Regions from separate parts of the Homo sapiens genome. Here region 1 is linked to region 2. Evidence: promoter capture Hi-C in human tissues and cell types (Jung and others, 2019). All regions are on one chromosome and are shown on one strand. Each heading gives the region's core, a stretch centred on a gene start or on the middle of the fragment in contact. The rest is flanking DNA. Distances are from core to core; before and after follow the strand shown.

Region 1 (2,500 bases), core at 1-2,500, 510 kb before region 2:
AACACCGACTTTAATTATTTGACATAATAATGACTTAAGAGATGGCAGAAGACAATTGATAATAATTGGGAGACAGTGTAGGTAAGGTATGGATTTATCTTGAACTCAAGATACTTATGATGTTCTATTAGGTTGGTGCACACAGCCATCTGGTCGACCTTAGACACGGGAAGGCAAGCACCCCCTGGTTGACCTTAGACATGGAAAGGTGAGAGCTATCTGGTTGACCTTACACATGGGAAGGCAAGACACATCTGGTAGACCTTGCACCAACCTAATATGATAAAAGTTGCAGTGTGGCTTGCACTATTCCTACTTATCAGGATTTCCTGTTTAGCACGTATGCTGACCAACCTTTGCTTAGAGTATTCATAAATTTCATAGCTCACTGTCCACCCATTATTTGTATGAAATCACAAGTAGACTCGTATTCTTGACCAATGACTGCAGTTTTTAGAGAACATGTTTCTTTAATTTCTTTTTCCTCAAAACTCATGACTTCTGTACACAAATTGCTACCTCACACATCAGTTTAGTCAAGTGCTCTAGCCCAGTCCTGGGAGAGCAAAAGGACCCATTTATTCATTTATCAGATATTATCTGAGCCCCTATTATCTGTCCTTGCAACAGTGCTTGACGGTGGTGTTAAAAAGCTCAGTAAATTGTCCTGGAGGAACTAATTTAGTTTAGAGTTGTGCATATGTAAATCTCATAATGTTCTTGTAGCAAAGACTAGCTAGTGCCTCCACCAGTCACGTACAGGGAAAAAAATTCTGGAAATTGTAGTGCAAATCAGGCACGGACCAATTATGCTTTTGAACTATACAGTTTTCTGTGCTGAGACTGGGCCAATTCTGATGAATTCTGAACAATGGTAAAACCGATACCTTTAAAATTCAAGAATGTTGAGTTCTAATGGCAGTTTGACCATTGAGATATTAATATAGGAACATCATTTAGCCTCTTAAGCTTGAACATCCATTAAGTGGGAAAAATAGTGCTCATTTCCTAGAGGTCTTCAGATTGGCTAATCAAGTTTTGATTTTGCTGGTAAGTAATGAGCAAATTTTCTTAGATGTGATCGCTTCATTTTCTCTTATATTGATTGGCAGCAGCCAAATGGGCATTCCAGTCCCTAATCTCCTGCAAGAGAAACACTTCTATTTCATAAATCTGGTAATTTTTGAGCTCTTTTCCCAACAGGGTGCTGCAGCTCACCAAGCGGAACCCACAGCATTTTCTGCTACCAGGATAGCAGCTTGCCAGTAGCATATACTAAATTACTGGGTTTCAGTATGATTTTGGCTGGTACAGACTTCAATCATCGAATCGACATGCGTTCAGCCATTCTCATAATGAATGTTTCCTTCTCTTTCAAACGTTGTTTCCAGCCCCAATCTCCAAATTTTTTTTTTTTAAGAGGTGAAACAGAAACTGTACTCCTTAGGAAGAAACTTTTCCTTCTCATCCCTGTTCCCCATAAAGGTACCTCCAGATAAATCTATCAAAAGCAGGACGCAACTCACCAGGTTTTCTAAAACGTTCCCCAGTCTCACCACCCTTCGTGACACCCATGGGTTTCCCAATTCTTCACCTTTCTCTTAGACACAGGCAAGCACATTATCACTCCAGAAAAGCAGTCCTGGCTTAGCCAGTTCCCTTCCAGAAGGACCACGTGGTTTTTGGCCCCATGGAGCCCTGCAGGGTAGGGGGGCTCACGGTCCCGATTTGCCTCGGGACTCAGGGGGCTTCCGAGATGCAGGATCTCCCGGGCTCGAAACGGGACATCAGTGGACAAACGGGAGCGAGGGTCGAACGCGCGGCTCCGAGGAAGAGGAACTTAAAGAACACGGGCCCAGCAGGCTACACCAGGAACGCGCGGGGCTCTAGGGCGCGTCCGACTCCTCCCGCCCTTCGCAGAGGAGGAAACTGAGGCACGGCGACTGTCTCAACGCAGTCCCGGCCCTGCCCCCCGCGGCCTCCCTCAGGCGCGCTCCCGCGCAGCCGGTTCCTTTGTCCCGGTCGCACTTCCTGCCCCATCCTCCGCCTCCTCCTAGCCCCGGGCCGGGCTGACGCGGCGGGAGAGGAATGCGTTTCCGGAGGGAGAGGGCGGCGGCGGCCTCGGGAGCGGGATCAGACGCGCAGAGGAGGCGGGGCCGCGGCTGGTTTCCTGCCGGGGGGCGGCTCTGGGCCGCCGAGTCCCCTCCTCCCGCCCCTGAGGAGGAGGAGCCGCCGCCACCCGCCGCGCCCGACACCCGGGAGGCCCCGCCAGCCCGCGGGAGAGGCCCAGCGGGAGTCGCGGAACAGCAGGCCCGAGCCCACCGCGCCGGGCCCCGGACGCCGCGCGGAAAAGGTAGGGGCCGGCGGGCCTCGGGTGTGGGAGCGCGGGCCGCGGCCTCCGGTCTCCTGTGCGCGGCAGCACTTAAAGCCGCCGGCCGGGCCGCGCCGGGACCTTTGTGCCGGGCGTGGGGGTGGGGGCGGGGGCGGGGGCGGGGGCGGC
Region 2 (2,735 bases), core at 69-2,568:
TTCAGGTCCAAGCAAACATCAAAAATTCCATCAAAACCATCAGGACCAGGAAACAGGACGTAAGAAGAGTGGCCAATGAGCCAATAAGTAAAACCAAAAGGTTATATATACATAGAAAGCAAGGAAAAGAAAATATCACCAAGGACCGAGTGATGAACTACGTCAAATGCTGAGTCAAGTAAAATGAAGACTAAGCTGACACTGGATTTGGCAACATGGAGGTAGGTCATTTGTAACCTGAAGAACGGCAACAATTTCAGTAGAATGATCGAGGTAAATATCTGACTTACCGTTCAAAAGAGAGGAAGTAGGAACAATGAATTGAATATAAGCACTGTAGAGAAATTTTACTATAAAAGGGAGTAAAGAAATACAGTATTACTAGAAGAAAACATGGTCAAGAGGAAAGTTCGATGGAAAAAAGAACAAGTGTATATGCTGTTATGGATTGCATTGTGTCCTCTCTCCCCAAAAAAGTGTGAGGGAGGGAGGGAGGGAGGGAGGGAGGGAGGAAGGGAAGAGGGGAAGGAAGGAAGGGAGGGAGGGAGGGAGGCAGGCAGGCAGGCAGGCAGGCAACGCTCACTTGGTGCAAAAAAAAAGAACCTGACAAATGCTCCGATGAAGTTCACATAAATACAAAAATAGTCACACGCAATGAATACTCGTATTAGCAAGCAAATATTTAAGGACTTTACATATTTAATTCATTTATCCCTCCTAACAATGCTAGGAAGTGGATGTCAGCATTACTTCGCCCAAGTGCATCCGTCCCTTTCCGCCACCACGACAAATGTTTTCTGGTTTCATCCTTCAAGGATTAACTTACATTCATTTCAAATCCTTTAATGATAAAGTGTACAAAATAGAGGAGAGCGGCAGGGGTTGGCAGGGGACGTAGGGAAAGGATGATTTGCCTTCGATCCTACATCCTGCATAAAAAGCAGCACAACCGCCACGGAGGCAGCCAGGCAGCGGGAAAACTAAGTGCAAAGCCAGGACTCTCCCGAAACCCTCAGGTCCTGCTAAGGGAGCCGCTCCCGAGGCTCCCCGCCCTGTGTACCTGCTGAGACTGTGGGAAGTCGGGTGACTGGGCGGTTTGGCCTTGCTGGCTCTAAGGTGAAAAACTATTTGCCTGAGGAAGATGACAATTCCGAGCCTGCCAGACTTCCTTCGAGACGGAAGCCTGAAAACTCCTCAGACTCCAGCACCTCCCTTTTACAAACTGACGTTTGTGCTGAAAGAAAAGGCCCGGCCTCTGCGCCCCCGGGCGGCAGCAAAGACCGCCGGGCACCCGCCGCCGGCGCCGGATGGGGCCGTTGAAGCCACGTCCCAGGCGCCCGACGCCACGACGCCTTGGCGCCGCCGGCGTCGCTGACGCTGCGAGCGTGAGCTGCGCGCCGAGAGCGGAAGAGGAGACGCAGTTTGGCGGCTGTGGGGATTTGCCGGAAGGTTAATAATGTCCATGGGCACATCGGCCTCCTCCTTTCTTATTCTCTCCCAAGTGTAATTCCAGGACGCCCCCTGAGCGCAGATTCATCCAGGCATTTGGCCTAGAGGCCCGCGGAGGAGAAATAAAGTACAGGCCTGGTAGGACCTTTGAGAACCTGGGCTTCAGCTACAAAACCAGAGCCCCAGTCCTTCATCTGCTGTCTCCTCAAGCTCTTTTCAGTGTATTGTGGAGTTCATTACCACTCTAAGCTCGCACGGAAGTGTACACCAGCTTCGTGATCTTAAAAGCAAAACAAAATCAAATGGACTAGGAATTAACTTGAAGCAGAGTTGTGACACTTAAGTGGTTTCTTGCCATCAGTTTCCACGCACTGCTTTAAGATGCAATTTTACAAGGTAGAGTTTTTTAGATAATTTGACCTCAAGAAATATATTAATTTTGTCTTTAAGTTGAACGAAGTAAAATGTTTTTAATATTTTAAAATATTAATTGATACAATTTAACTGTTAATAATGCCTGTGTGTAAATGAAAGGAATAGGAAAGATGGAACTAAAACTAAAAACCAGGAGGTTTAAAGGAGACCTTAGATTTGACTTAGTAGATTTCAACTATTTTCTAAAACTCTGAAAATTCATTATATCTAATTATTTCTAATTTTCCAGTAAAATCTGAATGCCTCACAAGAGATTCCTGAAAATTTATCAGCTCCCAAGAGCTGGTGTAGGCTAGCTCCATCACACCACTAGGAGTTACCATTGGGGTTGCCTGGAAAGGGAAAACAACACATCTTCTGGTGTACCAGAAATGTTCTGTCTTCTGCTCTTTCTGGGTGTGTTCAAAAATTCATGAAGGCAGGCTGGGCGTGGTGGCTCGCACCTGTAATCCCAGCACTTTGGGAGCCTGAGGCAGTGCATCACTCGAGGTCAGGAGTTCGAGACTAGCCTGGCCAACATGGTGAAACCCCATCTCTACTAAAAATACAAAAATTAGCCGGGCGTGATGGCGGGTGCCTGTAATCCCAGCTACTTAGGAGGCTGAGGCAGGAGAATCACTTGAACCCAGGAGGTGGAGGTTGCAGTGAGCCGAGATTGTGCCATTGCGCTCCAGCCTGGGCAACAGAGCGAGACTCCATCTAAAAAAGAAAAAAAAAAAAAAACATGAAGGCATATGCTTATTTATGCACTTTTCAGTATGTGTGTTTTATGTCAGTAACAAAGAAAATGTACATATAAATGATCAGATTTATTAAGCTTTCCACCAACAATTTTTTATTTTTTAAAGTTG

Evidence for each region. Contacts are between HindIII fragments. The study calls those that stand out against the background at their distance.
Region 1: a fragment that was not itself captured here is called in contact with the fragment with the promoter of CCDC7 in region 2 in 1 of the 25 tissues and cell types used here (dorsolateral prefrontal cortex).

Annotation. Positions count from the first base shown.
Region 1 is chr10:32,957,998-32,960,497 of GRCh38, reverse strand. ITGB1 (integrin subunit beta 1) reads left to right here and starts at 2,268. Exons shown (of 16, transcript NM_002211.4): 1 at 2,268-2,353. RefSeq lists an enhancer at 1,696-1,745 and a silencer at 1,916-2,495. The HindIII fragment of the contact is 6,847 bases long and covers 1-2,500 here.
Region 2 is chr10:32,444,723-32,447,457 of GRCh38, reverse strand. It overlaps CCDC7 (coiled-coil domain containing 7), which reads right to left and starts at 1,318. Exons shown (of 44, transcript NM_001395015.1): 1 at 1,061-1,318. LOC101929431 (a long non-coding RNA gene) reads left to right here and starts at 1,402. Exons shown (of 3, transcript NR_120660.1): 1 at 1,402-1,845. RefSeq lists a silencer at 1,148-1,377 and an enhancer at 1,448-1,767. The HindIII fragment of the contact is 7,178 bases long and covers 1-2,735 here.